Regions from separate parts of the Homo sapiens genome. Here all the other regions are linked to region 3. Evidence: promoter capture Hi-C in 16 types of primary human blood cells and fetal thymus (Javierre and others, 2016). All regions are on one chromosome and are shown on one strand. The core of a region is centred on a gene start or on the middle of the fragment in contact, and the rest is flanking DNA. Distances in the headings are between cores, read along the strand shown. Region 1 has its middle 91 kb from the start of LINC02404. Region 2 has its middle 49 kb from the start of LINC02404. Region 3 holds the start of CLLU1 (chronic lymphocytic leukemia up-regulated 1).

What was found. Contacts are between HindIII fragments. The CHiCAGO score rates a contact against its expected background, and 5 or more counts as called.
Region 1: a fragment that was not itself captured here is called in contact with the fragment with the promoter of CLLU1 in region 3 in 1 of 17 cell types (neutrophils); the score reaches 5.3 in neutrophils.
Region 2: a contact is called between a fragment that was not itself captured here and the fragment with the promoter of CLLU1 in region 3, in 1 of 17 cell types (neutrophils). The highest score is 5.1, in neutrophils.

Annotation. Positions count from the first base shown.
Region 1 is chr12:91,782,417-91,786,950 of GRCh38, forward strand. No RefSeq gene overlaps it. Among named protein-coding and RNA genes, the nearest start is that of LINC02404, 91 kb to the right of the region's middle. The HindIII fragment of the contact is 2,474 bases long and covers 1,303-3,776 here.
Region 2 is chr12:91,823,946-91,828,573 of GRCh38, forward strand. No RefSeq gene overlaps it. Among named protein-coding and RNA genes, the nearest start is that of LINC02404, 49 kb to the right of the region's middle. The HindIII fragment of the contact is 3,138 bases long and covers 1-2,936 here.
Region 3 is chr12:92,418,439-92,422,847 of GRCh38, forward strand. CLLU1 (chronic lymphocytic leukemia up-regulated 1) reads left to right here and starts at 3,093. Exons shown (of 2, transcript NR_027933.1): 1 at 3,093-3,397. It overlaps CLLU1-AS1 (CLLU1 antisense RNA 1), which reads right to left. Exons shown (of 3, transcript NR_144319.2): 2 at 2,576-2,735; 3 at 1,648-2,022. The HindIII fragment of the contact is 1,184 bases long and covers 1,980-3,163 here.

The sequences.
Region 1 (4,534 bases), core at 1,290-3,789, 640 kb before region 3:
TCTTATCTTCAACAAACCTGACAAAAACAAGCAATGGGGAAAGGATTCCCTATTTAATACATGGTGCTGGGATAACTGGCTAACGATATGCAGAAAATTGAAACTGGACCCCTCCTTATACCATGTACAAAAATCAACTTAAGATGTATTAAAGACTTAAATGTAAACCCAAAACTATAAAAACCCTAGAACCTACACAATACCATTCAGGACACAGGCATGGGCATATATTTTATGATGAAGGTACCAAAAGCAATTGCAACAAAAGCAAAAATTGATAAATGGAATCTAATTAAACTAAAGAGCTTCTGCACAGCAAAAGAAACTATCATCAAAATGAATAGACAACCTATAGAATAGGAGAAAAATTTTGCAATCTATCCATCTGAAAAGATCTAATATCCAGAGTCTACAAAGAGCTTAAACAAATCAACAGGCAAAAAAAACAAAAACAACCCCATTATAGAGTGGGCAAATGACATGAACGCTTCTCAAAAGAAGATATACATGCAGCCAACAAACATGAAAAAAAGCTCAACATTACTGATCATTAGAGAAATTCAAGTCAAAACCATAAGTGAGATACCATCTCATGCCAGTTAAAATAGCTATTGTTAAAAAGACAAAAAAAGACAGATGTTCATGAGGTTGTGGAGAAGAACACTTTTCTACTGTTGGTGGGAGTGTAAATTAGTTCAACCATTGTGGAAGACAGTGTGGTGATTCCTCAAAGACATAGAGGCAGAAATATTGTTTGACCCAGCAATCCCATTACTGGGTATATACCCAAAGGAATACAAATCATTATACTATAAAGATACATGCATGCATATGTTCATTGAGCACTATTCACAATAGCAAAGGCATGGAATCCACCTAAATGCCCATCAGTGACAGGCTGGATAAAGAAACTGTGGTACATACACACCATGGAATACTATGTAGCCATAAAAAGGAACGAGACCATGCTCTTTGCAGGGACATTGATGGAGCTGGAAGCCATTATTCTCAGCAAACTAATGCAGGAACAGAAAACAAAAGACTGCATGTTCTCACGTATAATTGGGAGCTGAATGATGAGAACATATGGATGCATGATGGGGAACAACACACACTGGAGCCTGCTGGGGACGGGGGGAGGGAGAGCATCCAGAATAGGTTATGGATGCTGGGCTTAATACCTAGGTGATGAGATGATTTGTGTGGCAAACCACCATGGCACACTTTTACCTATGCAGCAAACCTGCACATCCTGCACATGTACCCCTGAACTTAGAGTAAAAGTTAAAGAAAAATAAAAGAAGCTTCTTTAATCTGGCTTTGAGTTGGAAACTAGAAACCATTAATTTTTAAAAAGCTACATATTTTTAGAAATTGAAAGAGAAGAAAGTCTTTTTCTTCTAGCAAGAATATTTAAACCCTGATACATGCTAAGGAGATGTTCTTGTCCCTGTTGCTCTCAATATGATTGTTATGAGCTTTCAACACATTCATGCCTTTATTCTAATACAGATCCAAATAGAAGGCACTTTGCAGATCAATAAGTAATTATCATACACAGAATTTATTTGTACCATCCCCATAACTTAGCTGTCTACAGTCTGTCAACTGCATTTGGGCAGAATTTAGAATTTGAATGAACATAATTTGCAAATAGCTTGTCATGACCCACAAAAGGTTTTCTGAGATGGGAAAGCTCTCTTTTTACCATCCCAATGACAGCAGAAACTGGAATTATCTAGAAGGTAAACAAAAATTTAGCTCAACGATCTCCATCTCCACAACTACTGTATATTGATTTTCTGTCAAGAAGATGTACAACTCTTGGAGCATGCTCCCTGTATTCTTATTTATTTTTATATTTATTTACTCATTCATTTATTTTGTGGTGGGGTAGCCATGGCTACCAAGTTGAATAAGTTTCTTAAGCATTAGAATATATATCAAAGCCTTGAAATGTGTACCTAATACAGGAGAAGATACTCCTTTAGAAATGAAAAATTAAAAGCATTATTTCTGGGAGTAGATGGAGCTAGATAGTTCCTGCCTGCTGTTAACATTGTACACGGGTAAATATTCATATCAACAAATCAATTGAAATACGAGAGTTTAGAATTAGTAAGGATTCCATGGTGGGTAAGCCATATTACAGGCACAGTCCAGTGGAAATATACCAAAAAATTATATAATGTCACTGATGTGGTTTGGCTCTCTGTCCCCACCCAAACTTCATCTCGAATTGTAATTCTCACCTGTCAAGGGAGGGACCTGTAATCCCCATGTGTCAAGGGAGAAAGGTGGTTGGATCATGGGGGCAGTTTCCACCATGCTGCTCTCGTGATAGTGAGTTCTCACGAGATCTGATGGTTTTATAAGTGTTTGGAAGTTCCTCCTTCGTTCCTCTCTCTTCTGTTGCCTTGTGAAGAAGGTGCCTGCTTCCCCTTCCACCATGATTGTAAGTTTCCTGAGTCCTTCCCAGCCATGCTGAACTGTAACTCAATTAAAGCTCTTTCCTTTATAAATTACCCAGCCCCAGGGAAGTTCTTTATAGCAGTGTGAAAATGGACTAATACAGCCACCTAAATTCCATTTGATATCTCCTCATACCATTTTTTTTCTTCAAGTTCACGAAAGAGATAGAGACAGAGAGAGATGGTCACAGCTCCAAGTTCCTAGGGACAATAGCAAGGAAATAATGTATTAAATTTTAAAAGAATAGTAAAACAGTCATTTAATTCAGGAGCTCTAAGCATTGCAGATTTGCAGTGCCTATTTATATAGTAAAGGCTCTACCTGTGGAGTTGACACAGATTTTCTAAATTTATTTAACTATTTTTCATATCATGTATTAACTTCCCATTAATACACGAAAAGTAGGCCTGAGTAGCTACCCATTAATACATTTTACTAAAAATAAGAGGACAACTGGATGAAAGACAGACTCTCTCTACTATCTATGCAAATCTTCTGTACATCTAAAATTATTCCCCAAAAATATTGTAAAAAAATGAGAAAAGAGAGAAAAGGAAAAGCAGAGGCAGAATATGAAGAGGAAAAAAAGCAAGGGAGAAGATGAAGAAAAAGCAAAGGTGTGGTTTTTATGGACCAAGAGACAGCGGAACTTCATTCACTAATGGTACAATCATTATGTCTACATTTGTGTATTTGATGGTCTGTAGCAATCAGTTTTAGTATTGCGGTATAGTGTTAATTAGGGCATACGCACCTCCAAGCCAATTAAATTTGGTTTATTAATGCATAATTCAGTATTGTTATGTATAGCAGAACACATGAAAAGATTTTAAAATTCTATTTTCTGATGTGGCCTGAATTATTTCAAGGAAACACCCTCTGTCAAGTGAGTGAAAATGAATAATTATGGGAGTCCTAAAAGCCCACAGTTGGGCGGACTAGACGGCTGCTATGATTAAGCACCTCAGATTGAAAGTATGGATTCTATCATTACAAGAGCAAAGACAGTGCTGTGATAATTGTGAAAACACTGTAGCTTCCATTTTTGCTAATGTTTTTGGTAGAATATTTAAAGTCACAGAAGGTGAAGATAGAGAGCTCAATTTCTGTATCCTGTTACTTATTTAGATGAATGAGGTTTTCTACCAATTGTAGTCACAACAGAGCTTGCAATCCCTGTGACATTATGATAAGAAAGTGCCGATTTGAGCAAGAAATTAAATGATAATAAACATAGTGTAGACTCAGTGGGGGTGATATTGTTTAATGTCAGTAGTGATTGAAACTACCTTCTAGATGACTGAAGCTTTGTTGGCCTCGTCTGTTTATATCAATTTCTTCTTTTCAAAGGCCATTATCCTAAATTGCATGTTATATAACTTGTGCTGCCTCCCTCCAGCCCACAGCACCACTTCTAAAGCAACTTGATGATGCATATTGTAGAAAAAAATAATCTTTCCTGGGCTCAGCATCCAAGGAGATTACAATCTTGAGACTGTAATGGGAATGGATTAAACTTTGCACAATTTCCTTTTGTCACGTGAATTGAATCCCGTTGTGCTATTTTCTATACTCCTTTCAATCTTTGTCATGAAAATGATCCATGCAAGTGTTAGCACTGCTTAAGCAACCCTGGCCTGGTTTTAACCCAGTCAGAATCTTACAGTTTGATTGGCTCTTATTTTTCCCTCCCTGAGAAAACAAAGCCAGAAGACTGGGACAAACCCACCTAACAAATGACAGAACATGAAAAAGGTCATTGTCCTCTGGTTCAGGCAGGCTTAATAAGGACATTTAATGATCTTCATGTAGATCTCATGCAAAAAAAAAAAAAATTGAAGGGGCAGGGGAAATGTTCCAACATAAATCCAATCTTGTGACAGCAATTGCACACCTCTGCAAGAGGGAAAATGAAACAGTACAAAGGTCCTTCATTCTCAATGCAGCTACAGGTTTTCAGATTTCAATCACAGACCCTTTCTCAGATGTCAGACTTCGCATGTTTTCATTACCTCCTAGGTTAAGATGGAGTCATTCAAATCTTGGTGGTGTTCACAGACTT
Region 2 (4,628 bases), core at 118-2,617, 600 kb before region 3:
ACAAATGGTCTGTGGGAAGGGATGCAGCAGGTACTCAGTGAATTCTGACTTTGAGTTAGATTATATATCCCTTAGCTTTCCACTTTCTAGGGTAAAATAGCACTCTGGCAGGTTTTAACCAATCAACCAACAAATGTGTATTGAGTATCTACAATGTACCTGGTATTTTGAGGGAAACAGACAAACACATCTTATTCTCAAAGAACTCACAATTTATATGAAAAAGCATGATTTTAAGTATATAGTTAATCATTTTAACTTTTAAAACAATTTTGTGCATTCCTTTTCTTTTTTCTTATCTTGTCATTCAACAAACATGCTTTTTACATATTCAATACAGAAAATACAAGAAGTCCCATAGGGGACAAAAATATAAGTGATATAATTTCTCTCTCCTTAAAAAAGTTTAATGTCTACTAGGGAAGGTAAATATAGTCATACAGGTAACCACGATGATAGCACTGAATTTGGGGTTAGATAAAGTGTGCTGATACATTTAAAATGCTTAGTGTTTGACACATAGAAAAATTCATGAATTATTTATTATTATTATCTTGTTAGTATTATAGCTGAGTCTGCACAGATGTGTAGGGATTTGTCAAATGGAGAAGAGAAAGAAGGGTATGACTTCTTCTACATATACATTAACCTCCTTAACTCTGTGTGTTTACAGCCTCCTCCTTTCTCCTAAACTTCAGATCTACATTCTCAGCTTTTTATGGACTCTCTCCTTGGATGACAGCATGCAGGCTATAGTTTAAGGGGAGGCAAGAGAGGGATTAGGCAATTAACAGCACATACAAAGAGAAGACCCAGGATGCTTGAAAATTCCCTAAATGTCAAGGATAATAGAAGACAGAAAAATCAAAGAAGAAAACAGAGCAAAGGCGTTCAGGGATAGTAAAATATCACAGATGCCAGAGTGAAGGCAGAGGGTTAGGGCAGAATGGAGGCATTTATACAGTCAGATGGCTTCCTACATATAAAGGAATGAGCTTTTTCCTCCCTACTTTGAAGTATATCCAAACATAAGTTTGATATTTTCTGAAAATCTCTGCAGCTCAAACATGTACAATAATAAAGTATCTTTTTACCCCAATCTCTTCTAAACCTAGGACATTTAATCATTTGTGGAACTTGTGGGATTATTTTAGATACACTTCTCATCAGCACCAGCAGCCATTGTGCAGTGATTTAAATTTTGCAAAGAAAATCAACAGCTGGTGAGGGCATTGCTGCTTATATTGCAAAGCTGTGCCATCTGTTTATGCAGTGCAATTTGCAAGATTTCTTAGATGACATATTTCATGATCATTTCATATGTGGAGCTCATGTTAAATCCTTCTAGTAGTGTCCTTGGAGGAATCAAAATTGGCATTTATTATGGCTTTAAAAAGGACCCCATCCAATAAGAGATATTGCTGTATATCACTGAAATTAAAAGAACAATACTGCACATAAATATCCACAATATACAGGCAGAATTCTTGATGCTGAGAGCTGTTAGCATAAAATCACATAACCAGGGACATTTCAGATTCATGGTCTCCAATCTCAGTTGTTGCCAGGCTACATTTCTCTTGACTCCTCCTCCCTCACCCTTAGTTATGGATGTTATATTCTATTTGATTAAAATGAGACCATAGAACAAAAGTTCCTTCCACCTTTATCTCCTAGTGCTTTGAGTACATTTTAATCACCACATTCTCCCAGAATCTCCTCCTGTCTTTGTGAAAGGGGATTTTCTCTTTCTACTCCAAGTTCTTTCACCTGTGAATTCCAATTTCTCTTTTGAGACTTTATTTCGTCAGGTACTCTGTCTTTTCTCCCCCAGTCCTCTTCTTCTTTTTTTCTTTTGCTTCCTCTCTCTCTCCTTAGGATTCTGTCTCTCACACACACTCTTCTTTTCTTTTCTTTCTCTCTTCTGGATCTTTTCTTAAAATTTATGTACATGTTTGAGTATATATGCATAGTTCAATAAAGAAATGCCTTTCAAGGACACCATATTCCCCTCTACCTCTACTTTTTTACTGTCGAGCTTCTTAAAAAATTTCCTGCTACGTGCTATCTGTACTTCATAATAAGCAATTTACTCCTCACCGTGCTGTGATCTGCCTTTTGTTCTCTAGTTCCACTGCAACTGTTCTTGCAAAGGTCACTAAGGACTTTTGTATTTCCAAAGACAATGGATAAATCTCAGTTCTTATCTGACATGACTGCAGCAGTTGCCCATCTGATTATTCTCTCTCCATTCTGAAAACATCTGCCCTCTTTGTATCTATGAAACATCACACCTCTTGGTGCTGTGTAACTTCATAGAGGTCAGGCCCTCTTGGGTTGAATTTGGCTTGATTTTCTTCTCCCTGCCTTAGTTAGACTAGTACACTGACTCTAGACTGGATTCAACAACTCGTTAATTCTGTTTTGTGCTTCCACCCAGAGCTGTCAATCTATTCAGTGTTCTTCAACCCCAATTATTATGATCTGAACTCCTTTTACCAAAGGCATATAAACAATGCAGGCCAGACACTTTGCTAGGGAGAGATATAAAAAAGAACATGAGAATTTCTCTGTGTTCTGCAAATGGTGATGTGGAATTAAGTATTCTCTATAAGTAATTTAGATGTGCTACTTGTTTGGTTCTCCATTCAAAGTCAGTAGTGGGAAAATGATGATTAATTTGGTGCATTGGGTGGGGAGGAGAGTGGCTAATAACACGTGGTTTGTTATTGTTGGTATACAGGTTTCAAAGCAAGGCATAGTGAGAGGTGAAGATGGACAGGTAGAAAGTCTAACCGTGAAGAGCCTTGTATGTTATGACAGTGTGTTCTATTCATTAAAGGCAAAGAAAAACTATGGAAGTTGTAAAAAGACATATGGTATATGTCATACTCAGAGGTTTTAAATCATTAGTTCTGAGATTCAGTTCAGAGAAAAGCTTTCCCATGCTTCTAAAGAAAATCACCATTTGAGAATCATTATGCTAAGAAGTTTGGATTCGAGGGGAAATTATATAACTAGATAATTGACATAATTAAAAACTCATGATGCAACGTGGCCGCTTCTTTCCACATAGTTTCTATCTCCACTCTCTACAGGTTGCCACCATCAAATAGAGACTCTTTCATTTCCCTTCAACTGGATTTACAACCTATCTTACCTGGATCCATCCTTTTCTATTTCCCCTCATGTAGCTATAGAATCAGTGTCCCTTTCCTAAGACTCATCCCTCTGCCTGTGTGTGCATGCCATTCCTTCTCCCTCCTTCAGAGACCTCTTTTCTTTGGTAATAACTTCTTATGCATGGTTCTTCAAATTATCTCTCATTTTTCTATTAGATCTTTCTTATCGGCATTCAAAGGCCTAGCAACCCTAGTAACCTTTAAAAACAAACAAAAGTTCCATGACCTGATAACTCTCTTCAGTTACCATCCTTTCTCTTGCCTATCTTTCCCAGCCAAATGCCTGGAAAAGATGCCTACTTCCTGTCTCCTATTAACTCTCTTACTACTTCCATTCTGACTTCTCTTATTTTGCTACTACAACTTCTCTTGCTAAGCTCACAATGACCAATCTATGACTAAGCATAGCAGATACTTCTTAGACAGTTTGGACATCTCAGAAGTATTCAACATAACTTACCATGATTCTCTCTTTGAAAGAAACTCTTTATTTTTGGCATATATGATTCCACCTTTTGCTAGTTTTCCTCTTACTTCTTTAGTCTCTCCTTGTCAAGAAGCTCTTTTGGTTCATCCTTCCCTACTTAACCTCTATTTGTTAGAATTCCCGATAGCTCCACCCTGGACACTCTTTCTTCTCATTCTTTATTGTAAATTCAGACTTATATATATAACTGCAATCTCAAACCTAACTCTTCTTGCTCATCTTTTCAGCATGCTTCTTTACCCACTTTGCTTCATGATGCAAAAGCCAGGATATTTTAAAAGCCCCAACGCCACTTTATTTACCAGTTGATGTCTATTTTAATACCTAAATGTGTCTTAAATATATCCACTTCCCTGTGATACCACAGTCACCTTACAGTCTAAGCTAACATCTTGTCTTGGCTGGAATACTGAGCCATAAAATTCCCCCACTTCCTATCCAGATCTACTATTTTAAAATGCAGCCAGAATGATTCCCATAAGCTACAATTGGATTCTGTCACATTCCTACTTAAAATTCTAAGACAGCTTCCCATGGCACTGGAGATGAAATCCAACATCTTTTATATGGCCTATTACCCTGTATCATCTAGACTACATCTCCCTCTCCAGTCTCATTGCATTCCATTTTTTCCCGTCACTTGCTATACAACAGTTGCACAGGTTTTTTTCTCTGCTCCTTAAACACACCAAGTTCTTTACCACTTTTAGGATCTTCATGTGGAGGCTACTCCTGTCTGAAAAGCTCCACCTGCCTCTCCTATCTTCATACTGCCCCTCCAACCTTCTCCTCATGTTTTGCATTATTAACCTCTCTTCCTGCTTCAGGACACAGTTTAAATGTTACCATGTCTGCAGGGTTTTTTGTCTTGACTCCCCTTGCTATCTATGTAAGGGCCTAATTATAATCTCTCAACACACTCATTGCTTTTTCTTTGTGCTCCTTATTGCAGCTTATTG
Region 3 (4,409 bases), core at 1,843-4,342:
AATAAAATAAAAACTAAATTAGTGTTCCATGTAAACCTGGATGAACTGGTCACCCTACGTCTGCCCATCTAGATGGCTGGTCAAAGTTTCCCAGGCTCCACATCAAGTTGTTCCACTGCTCACTGGAACTTCCCTAGTCAGGTTGGGCAAATAGTAATTTACAGCAATAGTGAATTTATCACTGACATTTCTTCAGTTCCCCTCTTTGGCATCTGCTTCTTCTTTTCTGTAATGCTGTTTGTTGAAATGCCCAACATTCTTTTTCTTCCCTAGAGCTATTCAGGGTGACCTTTCTTTTCGCATTTTCCCATGCCACTTCCATTATATCAAAATAAAACAGTCCTGTGTGGCCACTGCTCATGACCTTGTTTCCTGCCATGTGAAGATAGGATCGGCTGCTCTTTCTTCTCCTCCTTTTTTTTCAGAGACAGGATCTCTCCCTGTCACCCAGACTGGAGTGCAATGGCACAGTCGTAGCTTGCTGCAGCCTCGAACTCCTGGACCTCCTCAGCCTCCTGAGTAGCTGGGACTACAGGTGCACACCACCATGCCTTCCTAATCTGATATATATATATATATATATTATATATATAAAATATATATATAAATATATATATTTTATATATTATATATATAATATATATATTTTATATATAAAATATATATATTATATATATATATTATATATAAAATATATATATTATATATATATATATATATTATAGAGATGGGGTCTTGCTCTGTCACCCAGGCTGAAGATCAGCTGCTCTTTCTAATCTGTGGTTAGATAAGATCTGTCTCCCAGGGGATAAAATACTACCTGGAATAAAGGTATCTTTAAAATAATCCCAGAGAAGAAAACATTTTTATAGTATGACAGAGGCAGAGAAAACAGAGAATATTTGTTAAGGCAGGACTTTCACCACTCCCAGTACAATCATCTGTCTGTTACCTGCATACCTTACACGGGCTGGCACTGCTGGGGGTACAAAGTAGATGCCAAACTTCACAATGGTTAGATTCATGTTTAAAAAGCCATTGGATCAAACCTTTGTGAAAGTTTCCAGCTTTTTTCTGTTCCAAATATGTGTCCATTATAAAAGAATCTCAAGAGCATAATTGCCAAGATAGTCTATGTCCATGAGTATTTCAACATCTCTCATGAAATCTGTTCCCATCATTACTCAAGATATTGTATGAACAGTATTCCACATAAACTAGGTGCTCAATAATGATTGATTGGCCAATGGAGGGTCATTATTTAATGCACTACAATCTTTTATGCAAGGGGCCCACAGGAATCAGTATGATCCCATAGGAATCCTTTTCTTTTCCATTGAAAAAGAAACAGATAGTGGCTTGTATTAGGTTTCTTGTGTGTGTTGTGAGGTGGAAAGATATGAAAAGAAATTTGATCAGAGCATAAATCTGAGCCCATGGGATAGGAAAGAATGAGGGAATAAGGAAGAAAACACAGATTATAGACAGGAAAATCAAACCTATTAAAACTGATAATTTTCGAATACTAAAAATGTACATTCATTTGAACAAAAAGATTCTATAAAGCAAGATTTCTCTGTTCTTACCAGCACTACCATGCCCAAACTACCTTAGGAAATGAATAGCAGAGTCAAACTTAAAAGCACCTGAAATTTAAAACAAAAACCAATTTACATTTTATTTAAGAAAAGCAAACAGATGGGCCTGCTAACAATGTCAAAGTCTCGTTTACAAAGAAAAAAACAAATCTGGAACCTGAAGTCAAACGAGTTCAAAATAAAAAGCAAACCAATAAACAGAAACCAACATAAACAGAAGTTACTACCATCTCCCTCAGCCTGTGAAATTCTGGAACTTCTCTTTCTTTCTCGCCTTCTTCTTCTCTCACCTGGAAGACGAGCAGAGTGAACACATCAGGGGTTGTCAGTTCCCCAGATGGCACCACATTCATAAACCACCGACTCCAGGAGAATGTAGGAAGCTTAGTTAAGGCCAAAGTTCTCTTTGGATCTTCCTCATGGGCTTCAAGGCAAAAGAAAAAAAAGTTTGCTTGAGAATATCTTCATATCTATTAGTTTGAACCATGCAAAATTACAGTTTTTATAGGTAAAATGAGTGCATATTGGCAATTTCAAATGATTAACCCTAATACATTATGCTTTTGGGTATAGAAATATTCAGATCTTAAACATATGCTGTTACATACAAAATCAGGTATATTCCTGCTTCTATAATTAAAGCAAAGAGAATTTCTTTTGGTCACTACTCCTTCTGACATGAGGTATGAACCAAGTTCAGGACCCCTAAAGGTCTGGGTCTGGGTCATTTCTCCACCTCTAACTTGTGCCGCTTTCTTGGTCAGTCATTGTGTTCTGAGCTGTCTCATAAAACATCTGCTATGACTTTACTTTCTCCTGATAGGGTGGCTTTCCATCGTTGGCACTTCGTTGGCCTTATTGGTATGCTTTATACACTGGTTCTCGTTTCCAAATTGGCATTATTATTGTTATGATTCCTGCTGCTCTCCCACATTTCCCATCTTTCTCCTGATCTCTCTCACCTGTACATTTCTTACATTTTCTCCTGTGCTTCCTTCTTCCCATCATCATTGCCCAAGTGTGTCTTCTTTCTTCTCCTTGTCACATTTCCTTTGCCCGCTCTCACATATGCAGAGATGGCTCTTGGTTTTCCTTCTGAAATCTCATAGTTTGGAGGTAAACTTGTTAGCAAGGCCACTGAGAAGAGAACAAAAGGGAAACATAAGAGAAACCAAGTCACTATCTCTCTCATTTCCTGGTTTCTAGAAGTAAGACCCAAAGAACTCACTGTTTCAGTGCTTTCAGCTCAGGCCAAACTAGGGTGATCAAACTGAGCTTCTGAGTGCTGATCAAAACCTATAAAACCAAGTAGACAGACCATCTACAAATCTTCACTGTTAAATACCATAAAGAATGAAAAGGTCACTAATTGGTAAGACTATATGTGTGATAATTAAATTTATGCATCAACCTGGCTAGGCTAAAGGATGACCAGGTAGCTGGTAAAACATTATTCTGGGTGTGTCCATAAGAGTGTTTTCGGAAGAGATCAGCATTTGAATTGGTGAACTTAGTAAAGCAGACGGCTCTCACCAATAAGGGCAGGCATCATCCAATCTGTCGAAAGCTTGAATAAAACAAAAAGAGGAAGGGAAAATTTGCTTCTTTTCTTCTTGATCTAGTATATCATCTTCTCCTGCCCTTGGATGTGAGTGGGCCTTCAGACTTAAACCAGGAGTTACACCTTTGGCTTCCCTGGTTCTCAGTTCTTTGGACTTGGACTGAATTACACTGCCAGGTTTCCTGGTTCTCCAGCTTGCAGATGGCAGATCATGGGACTTCTTGGCCTCCATAATTGTGTGAGTCAATTTCCATTTTATTTACATATCCAGTTATGCATTGCTTAACAATGGAGACAGGTTCTGAGAAATGCATTGTTAAGTGATTTCATCATTGTGCAAACATCATAGAGTGTAACTACACAAACCTGGACAGCATAGACTACTACACATCTAGGCTACATGGTGTAGCTTGTAACCTCATGATAAGTATGTATAACATCATGATAAGTATGTATGTATCTACCATATCTAAATGTAGAAAAGGTACAGTAAAAATATGGTATAATCTTATGGGATCACCATCATATATGCAATCCTTTGTAGACTGAAATGTCATTGTGTAGTGCATGACTGTATACGCACACATACACAAACACACACAAATATACTATTGGTTCTTTTTCTCTGAAGAGCCCTAATACAATATGTTATACATTTATATTGACTCTATTTCAAAATTTATGGTTTTGGTGAAACATATGTGGAGATGGGGCATAGGTGTGTGAACTGGGATAGTGTCCTGCTGATGAATGGGTGGGAGGCATCATTTGGGACAAGCCCAGGGCATCAGCTTATAGATATCAAGAGCTCAACAAGAGCACTTTATGGCAAAACCTCCCACAAGACCTCTCAGAAGTTGAGAAACTGCTAAAAGTTTCTTTATGACAGATGACATTTATGGATAAAATAGGGATTAGCAGGATTCTTTAAATACTTTCGAACACTAACCTTCATTTCTACCAGGCAGTGGGGCCCCAAGTGCAGGGCCATAGGAAGTACAAGTCTGGGAGATACTAGGCTGCACTGTCTGTAGAGAATCTGAAAAAATAATAGAGTCACTGAAATGCAGTTTGGTATAATTATTGCCATGCATCATAATTCTAAATCATACTAGTGGTCAAATACTCTTCCCTGAAAAAACATTTTCTTGGTTTGAATTCTAAATAATTGTTGTGGTCACCACTGAGCTTTTAAATATATAAATACTTTCAAGTTTGCATATTTTTATTACCTGTTCCTTAACAAACAT